6 separate regions of the Homo sapiens genome follow, and all the other regions are linked to region 5. The links are contacts of gene promoters, found by promoter capture Hi-C in blood cells and fetal thymus (Javierre and others, 2016). All regions are on one chromosome and are shown on one strand. The core of a region is centred on a gene start or on the middle of the fragment in contact, and the rest is flanking DNA. Distances in the headings are between cores, read along the strand shown. Region 1 overlaps GET1-SH3BGR (GET1-SH3BGR readthrough). Region 2 holds the start of LOC105372801 (a long non-coding RNA gene). Region 3 overlaps KCNJ15 (potassium inwardly rectifying channel subfamily J member 15). Region 4 overlaps GET1-SH3BGR (GET1-SH3BGR readthrough). Region 5 holds the start of ETS2 (ETS proto-oncogene 2, transcription factor). Region 6 overlaps GET1-SH3BGR (GET1-SH3BGR readthrough).

Evidence for each region. Contacts are between HindIII fragments. The CHiCAGO score rates a contact against its expected background, and 5 or more counts as called.
Region 1: a fragment that was not itself captured here is called in contact with the fragment with the promoter of ETS2 in region 5 in 1 of 17 cell types (non-activated CD4 T cells); the score reaches 5.4 in non-activated CD4 T cells.
Region 2: a fragment that was not itself captured here is called in contact with the fragment with the promoter of ETS2 in region 5 in 1 of 17 cell types (monocytes); the score reaches 7.3 in monocytes.
Region 3: a contact is called between a fragment that was not itself captured here and the fragment with the promoter of ETS2 in region 5, in 1 of 17 cell types (monocytes). The highest score is 5.7, in monocytes.
Region 4: a fragment that was not itself captured here is called in contact with the fragment with the promoter of ETS2 in region 5 in 1 of 17 cell types (non-activated CD4 T cells); the score reaches 5.6 in non-activated CD4 T cells.
Region 6: a fragment that was not itself captured here is called in contact with the fragment with the promoter of ETS2 in region 5 in 4 of 17 cell types (activated CD4 T cells, total CD8 T cells, non-activated CD4 T cells and 1 more); the score reaches 7.8 in activated CD4 T cells.

What each region holds. Positions count from the first base shown.
Region 1 is chr21:39,409,674-39,412,373 of GRCh38, reverse strand. GET1-SH3BGR (GET1-SH3BGR readthrough) reads right to left here. Exons shown (of 14, transcript NR_146618.2): 7 at 1,437-1,530. It overlaps LCA5L (lebercilin LCA5 like), which reads left to right. Exons shown (of 11, transcript NM_152505.4): 8 at 572-656; 9 at 2,007-2,110; 10 at 2,278-2,395. It also overlaps a transcript of GET1 not described here. Among named protein-coding and RNA genes, the nearest start is that of GET1-SH3BGR, 31 kb to the right of the region's middle. The HindIII fragment of the contact is 4,695 bases long and covers 1-2,700 here.
Region 2 is chr21:38,254,184-38,256,883 of GRCh38, reverse strand. LOC105372801 (a long non-coding RNA gene) reads left to right here and starts at 1,230. Exons shown (of 3, transcript XR_937708.3): 1 at 1,230-1,513; 2 at 2,550-2,623. It also overlaps a transcript of KCNJ15 not described here. The HindIII fragment of the contact is 1,091 bases long and covers 706-1,796 here.
Region 3 is chr21:38,281,432-38,284,131 of GRCh38, reverse strand. The region is part of intron 1 of KCNJ15 (potassium inwardly rectifying channel subfamily J member 15); the gene reads right to left. Among named protein-coding and RNA genes, the nearest start is that of KCNJ15, 26 kb to the right of the region's middle. The HindIII fragment of the contact is 6,132 bases long and covers 1-2,700 here.
Region 4 is chr21:39,427,101-39,429,800 of GRCh38, reverse strand. The region is part of intron 8 of GET1-SH3BGR (GET1-SH3BGR readthrough); the gene reads right to left. It overlaps LCA5L (lebercilin LCA5 like), which reads left to right. Exons shown (of 11, transcript NM_152505.4): 4 at 590-670; 5 at 1,298-1,629. The coding sequence starts at 1,308. It also overlaps a transcript of GET1 not described here. Among named protein-coding and RNA genes, the nearest start is that of LCA5L, 17 kb to the left of the region's middle. The HindIII fragment of the contact is 4,177 bases long and covers 1-2,700 here.
Region 5 is chr21:38,804,572-38,807,271 of GRCh38, reverse strand. It overlaps ETS2 (ETS proto-oncogene 2, transcription factor), which reads right to left and starts at 1,343. Exons shown (of 10, transcript NM_005239.6): 1 at 1,152-1,343. RefSeq lists silencers at 621-720, 741-840, 951-1,240, 1,431-1,500, 1,521-1,850 and enhancers at 1,961-2,120, 2,131-2,190, 2,371-2,510, 2,044-2,544. The HindIII fragment of the contact is 4,522 bases long and covers 172-2,700 here.
Region 6 is chr21:39,381,559-39,384,258 of GRCh38, reverse strand. All of the region lies in intron 1 of GET1-SH3BGR (GET1-SH3BGR readthrough), which reads right to left. All of the region lies in intron 1 of GET1 (guided entry of tail-anchored proteins factor 1), which reads right to left. Among named protein-coding and RNA genes, the nearest start is that of GET1-SH3BGR, 2.6 kb to the right of the region's middle. The HindIII fragment of the contact is 4,610 bases long and covers 1-2,700 here.

The DNA of each region.
Region 1 (2,700 bases), core at 97-2,596, 610 kb before region 5:
AAAAAATCAATATGAAATTTAAAATGGAACAATGATACCCTTGTTCTAGGCTTCCCCCCCGGCCCTTGTCTAGACGTAGCCCTGTCTCATAGAACTTTCTATTAGATGGTGGAAATGTTCACCTGTGCCATCCAATACTGTAGTCACTAGTCACACACAGCTGCTGACCGCCTATTGGAAATACAAATAGTGTGGCTGACGACCTAAATTTTAGTTTTACTTTCATTTAAATGAAATCACAACATATAGTTAGTGGCTACTGTAATGCACAGTACAGAAGAATATTTCATAAACTTCAAGGCCCACAGGACAGAAGGAAAACAGTGGACAAGCTGACCTGCAAGGCTCTTCAAAAATACTGTCCCGATCACAATAATGTGTCACTTTGTTTAAAGAGCTAGTACTTTTCGATGTCAGGAATGGTATAGGATGATATGGCCTATTTCTGTTTCTTCTAAAATCTACAGATTTTATTCATAGGATACTGAGCTCATTTAAATTGTTTTTAAAAGAAATCAGGGTTGACAAAAGCAAGCATTTATAGAAAAATTGGTTTTGTGGTTCTTTTTAGGAAAAGGATCGTGAGCTTGAAATTAAAAACATCTATAGTCATCGAATACTTAAAAATTTACATGACACAGAGGACTATCCAAAAGGTATGTTTTAATTACTTTTGCTCAAAATCTATTTTTAAGTATCTAGTCAGATTTTCCTAATTTATATAGACAAAATAATGGATATTTTCAAAAATCACTTCATTAGGCATTAAAATACATTTTGTGATTCTAGAAGAATAACGAGACTGAGATGGTGACATGGCTAGCAAGGAATAGAAATGCTTTCCCGTTCTCCCATCCTCAGCACACCCCTTTATGTCCTTTCTTCAGGTGGAGCAAAAGGATAACTTCAGCTTGAAGCAAAATGTCTGCCAAAAAGTGAACTTTCTAAGTGTATCTGTTAGCCAGTGTATGGCTTTTCAAAATGAACTTTATTGGGGTATACTTGACCTCAATAAAATGCATCCATTTTAAGTGTGCACGCAGCTCAGTGGGTTTTGACAGATGTTTATACCGATGGAGCCACCACCCCAATCAAGATATTGAATATTTCCACCTCCCCAGGAAGTTTCCTCGTGTCCCCTGCAGTCAGTAGTCCCCTACCTCACCCGAGGCAACCACTGACTTTCCTTTGGTCACAATAGCCTAGGTTGTCTGTTCTAGAATTTCATGTAAGTGGAATCCCACAGCTGCACCCTTTTGTATCTGGCTGCTTTTGTTCAGCATAGTGTTTTTGAGATTCATCTATATTGATGCCACTATCATTAGTGTATACCTCTCATTGGTGAGGTCTTCTTTTCTTCAAGAGCACGTGCACTGCTTTCCCCCCAAAATCTCCCAGCAACAGATTCGACTCAGAAGTACCATAGGAATACTCACCTCTGTTTTATTAGAAGAAGTAGCTACATGTTTACTTCCAGATGCAACAACCTCAAATTTCCTTGCCTGCCTTTGTTTGCTTCTGGCTTATAATCTAGAATAATAGAGACAATGAATCAACCGAGGGGTTGTTTAAATGATATAATTTCCTTCACTTTTCAGGAAAGTGCAGTCTAGATTTAGTGGTCATGCGCTTCAGCATGGACAGTCTAACCACTGATAATCAAGAGCTCCGCCACAGGATAGCTCGGTGGCCTGGCCTCTCACAATTACACGTCTACCTTGCTGAATCCCATCCACAAAGGACAGCCTTGTCCTCCAACAGCAACAATGTCTTATCCTAACACCTACTTGTTTTATACTCAAACACTGTGAGGCCCAAAGTAAGACAAAGCAAGGGCCCTGGAGGGAAAAACAGGAAACTAACAAATGCTTATATATATATTGAATATTTAGAAAATACTTAGTATACTTTATTATTACATTGCATAAAAGTTATTTTATGTTTAAAATCAATATTGTATCCAAATGTAAAATATGTTTCTTACATATAATCTACCTGTTCCATAGTTTCTTCAACAAAATCAGTCCAAGCAGACAGAAAAATTTTGCCATTCACAAGTATGAGACACCAGGGAACCCAAAAATCAGATGTTCCACCTTTGACAACTAAGGTACAGCAAATTTGGAATCTTGCAGTGTCTGATTAAACATGTCTTAACAAAAATAGGCTACAGTCACTTGTTCTATGTGAAAAGTATTTGTAGTCATTAGAATAAAATGCAATTTTAAGTTATCTAGACCCCCCAAAATGTGTTTTTGCTGCTTTTCTAAATTACAGGGTAAAAAGGCAACAGGAAACATCGATCATAAAGAAAAATCAACTGAAATAAATCATGAAATTCCTCACTGTGTGAATAAACTACCAAAGCAAGAGGATTCTAAGAGAAAATATGAAGGTAATTTTAACTCTTTAAAGTCTATCTTATCTGATTTCTTTAAAATTGTGAATTACTATATGTGTATATAAAGCACACATAAAACAGCTGGGCATGGCAGCTCGCACCTGTAATCCCAGCACTTTGGGAGGCCAAGGCAGGCAGATCACCTGAGGTCAAGAGTTTGAGACCAGCCTGGCCAACATGGTGAAACCCTATCTCTACTAAAAAATACAAAACTTAACCGCACATGGCGGTATGTGCCTGTAATCCCAGCTACTCAGGAGGCTGAGGCAGGAAAATCGCTTGGACCCAGGAGGCAGAGG
Region 2 (2,700 bases), core at 2-2,501, 550 kb after region 5:
AGAGAGAGTGGGGGAGAAAGAGAAAAAGAGAGAAGGAATCTGAGAAAGGAGACCATGATGTCAGCATGTCTTAAGGTCTTAAGGAAATCTACAAACCAGCACAGGATTCTAGTGGGCATCCAGTCCGGGCTCTCCAAACACCTGTGCAAAAGAAAACTGATGCCTTTTTAAAGAATGCCAGTTAATCTTTGAAGAAACTTTGGCCATTCTTATCAAAGCATTTTAAGGTCCCTTTGGCTAAGTAAACTATAAATAAATAACCAGATTACCTTTTCTAACAATCTCTCCTTTATCCCATGTTTTCTTTTTCTCTTTCCTCTCTCCTCCCCAAATGAATATTAACAAAATCTCTTGCCTCCTGGTGGAATCAGAATGAATCCATACAGACTATACCTATGTCAAACATACCTAAGCAAAATGCCACAGAGGAAAACTCATGTTTTTAGCTCAACCCCTTTATTGAGCTGATTTTTTTCTATTGCCCTGCTTTCCCTGATAAATATTATATATATATATATATATAAGCTGAATAGACATGGGCAAAATTTGGTTCTTCTGGATCATGGAAATTGGGCTTCGGGATACATGTTGGAATCTGAGTTCCAGCATTCTTGCATAGTCTGGCATCTTTATGAGAAATGGTCAGAATTCCATCCTTGAAGAAGGCTTCTAATGGAAGATCTCTGGAAGCAGAGGCAGTAAGCTTCTTTCGGGAATGGGGTTATATGTCCATCCTATGCAAAGTGACTCTTGCAGCCACCACATCAAGGGAGGCCCGTCCAAGGCTCATGTGCTCTCCTGGCCTTCTCACGGCCAGACTGCATGGGGATCGTGGTCAATCCTAAGAGATGGAATGGGTTTTTCAAAAGCACTTCCCCTAGAGAGAGCCCTCTACACTGGTCCAAAGGCAATGCCAAGAGACGCAAACGGTCTGTTTCCCATGGGAGACGATGATATACCCACACGTCCCCTGCCCAGGCATGTCGGTGGGGCCAGACCACGGCATCTGGTTTGACATAGAGCAGACAGGGTGAGGAACACTTTGCTTCTGTTGGAAATGAATGATACTTCCTCTCCCCAGAGTACTGGGCTCTGCAATTCACCCCAAGTGCAGCTGCTGCTGTTCTGGGTGCTTGAACTAAGTGGGAGCTGGAAGGGATGGGGTGTCATTCTGTCTTTAGGAAGGAAGGGCTGAGACTTCCTTATTTTCTCCCCCCTCTCCCTGCTGACTCAAAGCTCAGGGCATAAATCATTCCATTTCTGTTTTCCCAGTGGAGATGGTATGCCTCAGTCTCCTTCTCTTTTGCTCTTTCTTTCCCTGGAAGCAAGGGACTCCTTTTCAGCCTGGGAGTATAAATGGTGGCCCTGGAAAGAAGACACTGGGCTCCCAGGGGTTCAGGGCAGGAGGATGAAGAAGCTACACGAGATTTGGACTTCTTAGAGCTGGTACTCCCGGAGTCTAGAATCAGATAGACCTCCCGCGAGGATATGCTAAAAGTCCCATAGAAAACAGGTAAGCACAGAGGTGCAGAACGATGAAAGAGGGAAAACTGAGAATTAAAGGATCTGAGTATATACCAGCTGCTCAGGTGGGATGATTTGCAGGGGCTGTTTCCTCGGCCTGGAATGGTCCCCTCTGGCCTTCATTCACTGAGCTGACTCATTGTTCAGGTCCTAGCCTGAATGGCACCTCCTCTGGGAGGTCCTTATCTGATCTGGTCCTGATCCAAGTCCGTGCCCCAAGACTCCTTTTGTTGTGTATCTCACTTATCACTGTCTGAAGTTGCCCTCAAGCTTTTCCATTTACCATCTGTGTTCCAGTCTAGAGCTCAATGGTACCTGTCTTATTCACCAAACATCTTTCCAGCAATATCTGGCACATCATAGTCCCTCAAAAAATATGCATATTTGTCAAGTGGGTTGACAAAAGATTACATATGGAAGACATGATTTGTTACCGTGGAACTTTAATTATCTCCTTATATTTAATCTGTATTTCCAGCCTAAGCTTTACTTAATAAACTAACATTTGAACACCTTTTTTTCAATTTGTAAAACACTGCCAGAAATGTTGTTAAGTCCATGCTCAGATCAAAATGTAGGCATGATTAGTTGTATTTTAAGGGCAAGGAGATGGAAGCCAAAGAAGATAAGTGATTTGTGCAAAGTCACACAGCTACAGAGCGATGAATTGAAGCTCAAAACAGCTCTTTTCACTTTCAATCCATGCATTTTTCATTATCGTACATTTTTCTTAAATTCTTATATTTTGAGCATACATATGCATATGTAGCTTCTTCTCAGCATCGAGTTACATACTGCATGAATTTTAACCACAGTTTAATACTCTGGGAAGTTTTAGTTCTTGCAGGACCATACACAGTGGAGCAGATACTCATTTATAACAATTTTAAAGATGATGGAAGGAAAAAATGAGTCCAGAGTAGTAGAAATACATTTTAAAGTTTAAATGCTAAGACAATGTTCTTCATTTTGGTGATGTTTACCTGTTTTTGTTACTTTTCATTTGGTGATATGTCAACAATTAGATTTTGAGGCTGCAGATCTGACAGTTTACCAAAGGAGATGAGACATTATAAATGTATGACTGCAGGGTTGAGAGGTGAGTGGGGAAATTCTAAAATGCGCGTCTATGTGACTTCTGTCATAGAGGCCAGGCTTTGTTAAGCATGCTTTAAC
Region 3 (2,700 bases), core at 83-2,582, 520 kb after region 5:
GGCTGCCTGGAGACACCTAAAGAGAAGTAAGCACTAGGGTCTGTGCAGATGGGCCTGGCCTTCAACAGAGACACCTGGACAGGAGGGATGCCTTTAGCACATAAGCCAACGAGTGGAATTTGAGCCATGAAAGTGCAGGAGCTTCCCCCTTAGACAGTAGTGTGGAAGCAGCAACCCAGACTGAGCCTGAGTAGCCTTAAGACCAGGCAGAGTCAGAGATACAGGCAAAGGAGACTGAGGAGGGACCATCAGTCCAAGAAACACAAAGGCACCAGGAATTCACTTTTCACTTATCAAATTACCGAAAATTTTAAAAGACATGTGAACATTCTACATTGACGAGTTTGCAGAAATGAAGAGCTTCCTGCATGGTGTCCGATAGAGTAATCTAGCATAACTTTTTTGAGGGAGGCAGTAATTTGACAATGTATACTCAAAGTTTTAAACTATTTATGTTAGACTGCTTGAGTCAGTAAGTCTACTTTTAAGACTTAATAGGAAATGTATGATAGGATAATGTACAAGAGTGTTCTCTATATTTATTATGATATTAAAACATTAGAAGCAATCTGAGTCACCAACAATATAGGAATGGTTTTAAATTTATAAAACACTCATAGGCTGAAATATTATGCAGTGTTTAAAAATCATGAAAAAATGCTAAATATGTTTTTTAAAAGGCAATTGATACAGCTAAATATGCAGGGTAATCTCTCTGTTTCTCTCTCTAGGTAAGATCAAAATAAAACACCTCTAAAATATTAACAGCAGTTATCTCTCTAAAGGAAAACAAAATTAGGAAGGTTTTTCAACCAGATTTTCCATTTTTATGCAGTTAATCTGAAAATTCAGTTTCCCTAGCACAGACCATTTCCAAGTATTCCAGATTTTACTGTAAATGAGAAGTACTTTCTGTATTATATTACACAAAGAAACTTTCCACACAGTGTTGTGGCCAAACATTATGAAATCATTTACTCTCAGAGATATTTCCAAATATCTATTGCACAAATCCAAGAACCTAGTTTTCAGTCATCTTAAGGCTTCATTTCATTGACTGAATTAGAAGAGTTTGCACTTCACCCAGAGATACTGCTGATAAAGCAGATATCCTGCCCTATACCTTTGCTTAGGCTGACCCCTTTATTCCATATTTCTTCTTTGCTCTATGCCTGGTAAACTCCTACGCATCCCTCGAGGCCCCGCTCAAATGTCATCTCCTCCAGCATGCAGGTAGCGTTCACCTTGTTCCTCTCTTCTGCCTTCTCATTGTCCACACCTCATGATAATACTTACTGTGCTGCTGTAATGATCAGTCTTGGAGTTTAGCTTTCCCCATAGACTGGGCACAGTAGTTCATCCTGAGTGGCAAACACAAGGCCTGGCATGTGGTAGGAACTTAATGTTTAAGGGAGGCACACGGTGGGCAGAGATGCCATTCAAGGGGACTCAGCGTCCGATTTAGTAAGAATGTCACTTGCCTAAGGTTATGATGCCCAACGTTCTAGGTCAGAGAGGAATCCCAGAGAGGAATCCAGTCCACAGCTAGGCACATTGTTCGGGTGAAGAATATTTCACTGATTTGAACAATTCAATTAGAAATAAAGATTTCGTCTTCCTATTCTGATTCGTAGCACAAAGAATATGCCACAATGTTCTATCTTGAAGAGAAAATTAGTTGTACATCTCTCAAAATGACAAAACCGATAAAAACTATGGGCAAACATAAGTATATTCAATTTCATCCAACAAATTACTTCCTCTGTGTATTTCATGTTCCCCAGTACACTGACCATCATAGACAAAGAGTTCTAAGATTCCTTTCGGCTCTGTTTGCTTCTTTACACCAGATGTCTCCAATGTGGGGTACACCAGTAACCCAAGCAGGGACAGTGACAAAATGATAGAAGTATTCAATTGTAGCTTCCACTTTATCCTTTTAAGTGTTTATATCTTATACATATTTTAAAATGAATCCATGGTGAACTTGAATAAATCAACAAGCAAAAAACATATTGCTCCATTTAAAAAAAATGGGCAAAGGAAATGAACCGACACTTCTCAAAAGAAGATATACAAACAGTCAACAAACTTGAAAAAATGCTCAGCATCACTAATCACTAGAGAAATGCATATCAAAACCACGAAGAGTTATCATCTCACACCAGTCAGAATGGCTATTACTAAAAAGTCAAAAAATAGTTGCTGGCCAAGGCTGCAAAGAAAGGGAAAGTTTCTACACTATTGATGGAAATGTAAATTAGTCCAGCCACTGTGGAAAGCAGTCTGGAGATTTCTAAAAGAACTTAAAACAGAGCTGTCATTTGACCCAGCAATCCCATTACTGGGTGTATTCCCAAAGGAAACTATATCATTCTACCAAAAGACACATGCATTTGTATGTTCACCTCTGCACTATTCACTAGAGCAAATACATGGCATCAAGCCAGGTGCCCATAAATGTAGAATGGATAAAGAAAATTTTGTACAAATATACCGCAGAATACTATGCAGCCATAAAAAAGAATTAAATCATGTTCTTTGCAGCAACATGGATGGAGCTGGAGACCATTATCCTAAGCAAATTAATGCAGGAACAGAAAACCAAATACCATATGTTCTCACTTATAATAGAAGGAGCTAAACACTGAGCACACATGGAGATAAATATGGGAACAATAGACACTGCAGACTACTAGA
Region 4 (2,700 bases), core at 51-2,550, 620 kb before region 5:
AGCTATCCACCCACCTCAGCCTCCCAAAGTGCTGGTATTTCAGATGTGAGCCACAATGCCCAGCCTGGATTCTTCTTAATCTAGATGCAAAGGTTCACAAATAAGGATCTGCTTCTGCCCACCGCTACACAGCAGAATGTGTCTGGAAAGAGAAATTCTTTGCCTTAGGATTGTGTAATGCTCCCACCAATGTGGTGTTGCAGTCATGGTGCTTAATGAAAAAAGCACTGCCCCTGGAGCTAAGAAACAGGGACAGTCTCTGAACTTTAAACCTGTCTGAACCTATTCCCTCTAGGTGGCTGAGATGAGGTGATGTGAAATAAGTTTGTACAAAGTAAGAGCACTAGTTAGATATTAAGTGTAATGCTAATATTAATTATTACTAAGATCATTTGATTTCTTGTAGTGAGGAGATTGTGGACTGCCTAATATATTTCATCAGAAGAGAAGGCTGGAGAATTAAGCAGATGCAGCAAAAAGCAGAAACTGACTTCAAAAAAAACCCTCTCAGTAGAGAAAGTGATATTAGATTCCTATTGCAAAGGATCTAATGCCAGTTAAATTCTCTTTTGCTTTCTTGATAAAACAGGAGAATTGAGAATTAAATGAAAAGGTAAATCCTTTTAAAGACCTCAGAAGATGGATCTGTTTGTTTCAATCTGCTTTTGAGGTAAGCTGCTATAAAAGAGATACTTGTGGTGGTATTGTCCTTAGTGCAGTAGCATAATAAAGAAATGCAGAACCATCTGCTTTGTAACTAATGTTAATTTTATTAAGGGTATAAATTTGGGGTCTTTCTTGTATTTCACTTTCTATTCCTTCCATTTTAAATTATCACTTTAGACAACTAAGAGGGCTTATTGAAAGTATTCAAAGTTTATGTCCATGGCTGAGCATGGTGGCTCACGCCTGTAATCCCACCACTTTGTGAGACCAAGGTGGGAGGATCACTTGAGCCCAGGAGTTCAAGACCAGCCTGGGCAACATAGTGAGACTCCCATTTCTACCAAAAAATAATAAGTTAGCCAGGTGTGACGGCACACACTCGTAGTCCCAGCTACTCCAGAGGCTGAGCTGAGAGGATCGCTTGAGCCCAGGAGGTCAAGGCTGCAGAAAGCCATGGCCACACCACTGCACTCCAACCTAGGCAACAGAGTGACACCCTGTCTTTAAAAAAAAAAAAAAAAAAAAAAAAAAAAAAATATATATATATATATATATAAAATAAAGCATAGGTTCATTTTAATGTCAATAAATTCAAAAATACTTTTATTAGGTTTTACTTTTCTTTTATTAGGTTGTTTGCTATGTCTTTGGCTGATCTAACAAAAACAAATATAGATGAGCATTTCTTCGGCGTGGCATTAGAAAACAATAGGAGGTCTGCAGCATGCAAGAGAAGCCCAGGCACAGGCGATTTTTCACGGAACAGTAATGCTTCCAATAAGAGTGTTGATTATAGCAGATCTCAGTGCTCCTGTGGAAGTTTAAGTTCTCAGTATGATTATTCAGAAGACTTTCTCTGTGATTGTTCAGAAAAGGCTATTAATAGAAATTATTTAAAGCAGCCTGTGGTAAAAGAAAAGGAGAAGAAAAAGTATAATGTTTCTAAAATCTCCCAATCTAAAGGTAAGGAGTAAAATTTCCCAAGCAAGACCAAATTTCTGTCATAATGATGTTATTTTACTGCACTAGTGTTTGAAGTGGTTCATACTCAGTTTTATTGTTTTCCCATATTGTAAATGTGTATTATAGGTGAACTTTTATAGAATAAATTAGGAAATAGAGAAATTAAGAGTAATTATAAAATAACAGAAAGGCTTCACATGTAAAGCCTAGCCCCCTGCATGGCTTACCCTACTGGAGCCTACTAGTGAGGTTAGTTCTGTTTTTAGTTAACAGGTGGCCTTGTTACAGAGTACCACAATATTTGGATTTCACTGGCTTCTTGCCTTTCATCTCAGCTGAAGAATCAGTGTTTGAATTGCCAGTGAAATGTAAATACCTATCTCAGCACCCCAAGAGGATGGTCTCCAAGTCTGGTGAGACATATTGGCAAACACCATCTTTTGAAACAGAGATGGTTCAAAAGGCTGTTAATAATGTCATTTCTTTGTAGATTTTTTTTTTTTTTTTTTGAGACAGAGTCTTGCTCTGGTTACCCAGGCTGGAGTGCAGTGGCGCCATCTCGGCTCACTGCAAGCTCTGCCTCCCGGGTTCACGCCATTCTCCTGCCTCAGCCTCCTGAGTAGCTGGGACTACAGGCACCCACCACCACGCCCGGCTAATTTTTTGTATTTTTAGTAGAGACAGGGTTTCACCGTGTTAGCCAGGATGGTCTCGATCTCCTGACCTCGTGATCCGCCTGCCTCGGCCTCCCAAAGTGCTGGGATTACAGGCGTGAGCCACCGCGCCCGGCTCTTTGTAGATTTTTAAAGTACCAGCTCTATCAACTCCCAGCTGTCCAAATTGGAATTAGCTTGTGTTATCTTTGATCTCCTTTCTTCCTCCTTCCCTGCCCAGACTGTAATTCCTTCCTCCCATTTGAGGCAATCTTGAGCTCATAAGTATTCCTTATATAGAAACAGCTGGGGCTCTTGTCCATGTTGACCATCAGAGCACTTCAGTCAACAGGAGGACAATAAAGGGCCTGCTGTTTGGGGAGTGCATCTGCCACCGCCATGTCCACCTTGCATCTTG
Region 5 (2,700 bases), core at 94-2,593:
ACACAACCTTGTAACACACATTTGAAGGTAGTTTGCTTTTTTCGCTTTGAAAGCGATCAGTTTAGAGAGATGAATGACTAATCCCAGAAATGAGTATCTGAGCATTTCCCTGCGGATGGTCGGTGCTAACATTTACTGTGCTGCGCTACTACTCAGAATTTTAATAAAGCTTAACGTGGAGATTTATCTCTCTGATTGGTGGTGGTGTGGGCAGGCAGATAACGCACAGGCGCTTCCATTGTATGGAACAAATATAATCTCTTACTGGCGAATTAAAATAAATTACTCCTGTCTCCAAAGGGGACTGCTCATTTCTTTACTTTCTAAATAACTAGCGCGTCAACTACTGTTTTAGGCTACCCTGAAATTGTGTACAGGCTAACATAAAAGGTCTCCTGCCGTAAAAAATAAAATAGGATAACACACACGCAACCCAAACACACACAAGCAAACACTCAGTTACCTCTTCATTCAAATGCTGTAGGAACGAGAAAATAAAGGCAGCCCAGCGCAACCAGATCTCATTTCCGACAGGTTCCCCACGCTCTCCTCGCACGACCGAGGGGTCCCCAGCCCGGGCCCTGGACGCGGCGAGCAGGTGACCATGGCACCCCGCGCCCCGCAGGTTCCCGCGGTGCCGCAGCCTTCAGGTGTCTTGGGCGCCCCAGATCCTCCGGGCCCGGCGCCGCTCCAGGAAGTCACCCTCAAAGCCGGGGCGCCAGGCCACCTCGGACACGCTCTCCTGTGCCCCCACTCCCGTTCGCGAAATCATGTTCGCCGGGACATCCACTGGGCAGGACCCCCTACCAGGCCTGCGTTTCCTTTTAAAAACAAAAGCGAGCGAAACAAGCCAGCGCGCCCTGGCCGCGCCCGCCGCTAGGCGACCCCGAAGACAGCGGCCCTAGCACGCAGGAACCCCCCGGCCGACCCCGCCAGCCCCGGAGGCCACTCCATAACCGGAAAACGAGCCGGCGCGGAACTCAGACGCGCGCCCCTAGAGTCCTCGCAGCAGCCGCCACCCCCACCTGCACCCCCGGCAGCGCCCCGAGATCTGCGTGTCAGTGCCCCCCGCGACCCCCGCCCAGGCCCCGGGTGACCCTCCATGGGACTGGAGCCGCGCGCCGGGCGCTCTCTGCGGGCCCAGCTCTTACCCTGCCGCTGCGGGCAGGGCCGGCGCTTGGTCGGGACGGTGGCTGCTCGGCGCCCGCGGCTGCTCGGTGCGCGCCGGGCGAGGGCGAGGGCGCCGGCCAGAGACGATCAGGGAGGCCGGACGCTGGCCGGGCGGCTCCGGGAGCTCTGAGCTGGAGCGACACCGCACTCGTCAGTCTCTGGAGGAAGTAACCGGGCCGTCCCCCACGCGGCGCGCTCTTCAGGAGCGGGAGGAGGAGGGAGGAGGGAGGAGGAAGGAGGGACGGCCGAGTGGAGGGGAGGGGAGGAAACGAGGGAGGAGAGAAGAGAGAGGGGAGGGAAGGGGAGGAGAGAGAAGAGGAGGGGAAGGGAGGTAGGCAGGATGGGGAGAAGCGGGAGGAGAGGGAAGGGGGCAGCAGGAGGGTTGGGGGAGCGGAGGGAGAGGAGAGGGAACGCACGAGGGGAGAGAAGAGGAGGGCGGAGGCGGCGAGGGAGCGCGGGGCGGGGCTGACACCTTCCGGCCCAACCTTCCCTCCGCCTCCTGCTGTCACTCGGCTGGGTCCCTCGCCGGCTGGCCCTGAGGCCCCGGGAGCAGGGCCTCGGCCCCACGTGCGCGCGAGTGTGCGCCCTGGGAGCCGGGCGGAGACTTTCCGTGGAGCGCTCGGCGTCCTCTCTGGGGCCAAGGCCCTAACGCCAAACCTGCCTTTGGAATTCCGCAGCGACGGAGCAGTGGTGCTGGTGGCACCGAAGGGCAGCCGGGCTTGGGTAATAAGGCCCTGAAATTGAGCCGACCCCATTCTTGAACCTCTGAATGGGCTTAGGACTAATGATCATTCTATCACAAAAAGGCTCCAAATGAGGCGCTTCCTGTAGAAACCGGGCCCTGGCTGTGTCCCCGAGTCGTGGTGCTGATCGCGCTGCTCCCGGGAAGCCCCGATCCCGCAGGCTCCGCGGGAGTGGCGCCCTCTGGAGCTGAGCGGTGCCCAGATAGCGACCCGCCTTGGCCGCGCTTCAATCTGGGCTGGGCACTCCACGCACATCATCGTCACTCTCGGAGGACTTGCGGCTCCCACTTTACACAGGTGGGAACTGAACCTTAGGATGAATAACCTGCCACGTCAGATTGATGAGAAATTCAAGGTGGAAACCTGAGTTTATCTGACTCCGAAACCCTGGTCAAAACCACCCCCTACACTGTGGTTTCCGTTTTTATCAGAAGGTGCTTGAGTCCATGGCTGTTTGGACTCAGGTCACATGCTCAATATTTTGCAGGAAAGTTTAGATTCCTGAAGTTGTGGATGAAATAGGAAACCCCAGCTTAGGCGAGGCCACGGGGCTGAAAGCTGCTCACATCTCAAGAACTGCGGCACCACCGGGAAGGGAGAGGAATGGCCCAGCTTCTCTGTGACTCAGGGTTCTAGGTTTCCATGGTGACTCTAGGTCTAGAGTTATCCGGATAATTGAGATATCGGTGCACCTTAATGTTTCTGGGTCCCCGAAGGTCTCCGGGTATCACCGTGGCATGAGTCACAGTCAGAATCTATACGGCTGAAACAATCACGTATAGGGGAA
Region 6 (2,700 bases), core at 91-2,590, 580 kb before region 5:
AATAATAATAACAACAACAAAAGGAACTCAACAACAAAAAACAACTGGATTTTAAAAGGGGGCAAAAGATTTGACTAGACATGTCTCCAAAGATAAACAGATGGCCATAAGCATCTGAAAAGATACTCAACATCACTATTAGGGAAATGCAAATCAAAACTAAAATGAGACACCACCTTACGTCCATTAGAATGGTTAGTATTACAAAAAAAAAAAAAGGCCGGGGGTGGTGGCTCACGCCTGTAATCCCAGTACTTTGGGAGGCCCAGGCAGGTGGATCACCTGAGGTCAGGAGTTCGAGACCAGCCTCGCCAACATGGCAAAACCCCGTCTCTACTAAAAATACAAAAATTAGCCCAGCATGGTGGCATGCACCTGTAATCCCAGCTACCTGGAAGGCTGAGACAGAAGAATTGCTTGAACCTGGGAGGCGGAGGTTGCAGTGAGCCAAGATTGAGCCACTGCACTCCAGCCTGGGTGACAGAGAGAGACTCCCTCTCAAAAAAATAAAAATTAGCTGGGCGCAGTGGCTCAAACCTGTAATCCCAGCTACCTGGAAGGCTGAGACAGAAGAATTGCTTGAACCTGGGAGGCGGAGGTTGCAGTGAGCCAAGATTGAGCCACTGCACTCCAGCCTGGGTGACAGAGAGAGACTCCCTCTCAAAAAAATAAAAATTAGCTGGGTGCAGTGGCTCACACCTGTAATCCCAGCACTTTGGGAGGCCAAGGTGGGCAGATCACCGGAGATCAGGAGTTCGAGACCAGCCTGGCCAACATGGTGAAACCTCGTCTCTACTAAAAATACAAAAATTAGCCGGGCATAGTGGCGGGCACCTGTAATCCCAGCTACTTGGGAAGCTGAGGCAGGAGAATCTCTTGAACTCGGGGGGCAGAGGTTGCAGTGAGCTGAGATTGCGCCATTGCACTCCAGCCTGGGCAACAAGAGCAAGACTCTGTCTCAAAAAATAAATAAACAAAATAAAATAAATAATAAAAAAAAAAATAGGCTGGGCGCGGTGGCACAAGCCTGTAATCCCAGCACTTTGGGAGGCCAAGGCGGGCAGATCACAAGGTCAGGAGATCGAGACCATCCTGGCTAATTCGGTGAAACCTCGTCTCTACTAAAAATACAAAAAAATTAGCCGGTTGTGGTGGTGGTGGGCACCTGTAGTCCCAGCTACTCGGGAGGCTGAGGCAGGAGAATGGTGTGAACCCGGGAGGCGGAGCTTGCAGTGAGCCGAGACTGCGCTACTGCACTCCAGCCTGGGCAACGGAGCAAGACTCCATCTCAAAAAATAAAAATAAATAAAAAAATAAAAAGAATAAATAAATAAGAAAACAAAATACATGTTGAAGGATATGGAGCAACTGGAACCCTTCTGCACTGCTGGTGAGAATGTCGAATGGTGTGGCTGCTATGGAAAACAGTATGGTGGTTTTTCAAAAAAATTCAACATAGAATTACCATAGATTCAGGAATTCCACTGCTGGGTATATGTCCAGAAAAACTGAAAGCAGAGACTCAAAGAGATATTTGTAAACATTTTAGCATTATCTACAATAGTCAAAAGGTAGAAACAACCCAAGTGTCCATAGACAGATGAACTAATAAACAAAATGTGGCCTATACATACAATGGGATACTATTCAGCCTTAAAAGGGGAGGAAATCCTGACTCATGATACACCATGGATGAACCTTAAGGATATTATGCTGAGTGAAAAGAAGCCAGTCACAAAAGGAAAAATACTGTCTGATTCCACTTATATGAGGTCCCAAGAGTAGTCAAATTCACAGAGGCAGAAAGTACAATGGTGATTGCCAGGGAGAGGTAGGAATGGAAAGTTGTTGTTTAATGAGTGCGAGAGTTTCGGTTAGAGGAGATAAAAAAAGTTCTGGGATGGGGCCAGGCGTGGTGGCACACGCCTGTAATCCTAGCACTTTGGGAGGCCAAGGAGCACAGATCACTTGAGGTCAGGAGTTTGAGACCAACCTGGGCAACATAGTGAGACCCCGTCTCTATTAAAAATACAAAAATTAGCCGGGCATGGTGGCAGGTACTGGTAATCACAGCTACCTGGGAGGCTGAGGCAGGAGAATCGCTTGAACCTGGAAGGTGGAGGCTGCAGTGAGCCAAGATCAGGCCACTGCACTCCTACATAGGCAACAGAGTGAGACTCTGTCTCAAAAAAAAAAAAAAAGAAAATGTTCTGGGAGCGGGGCCACGTGCAGTGGTTCACACCTGTAATCCCAGCACTTTGGGAGGCCAGGATGGGTGGATGGCTTGAGGTCAGGAGTTTGAGACCAGCCTGGCCAACATGGCAAAGCTCTGTCTCTACTAAAAATACAAAAAAATACCTGGGCGTGGTGGTGCATGCCTGTGGTCCCAGCTACTTGGGAGGCTGAGGTGGGAGGATCACTTGAACCTGGGAGGCAGAGGTTGCAATGAGTCGAGATTACACCACTGCACAGAGCCAGACCCTGTCTTAAAATAATAATAATAAAGTTCTGGGATAATGGTTGCACAAAAATGTGAATGTACTTAATGCCACTGAACTGTACACCTAAAAATGATAAAGATGATAAACTTCATATTATGTGTATTTTACAATTAAAAACAAGAAGATGAGCATGGGCCAGCTCATCAGGAGTCTTTTATGCAATGCCTGAGACATCATCTTAAAGACTGGATAGCATCAG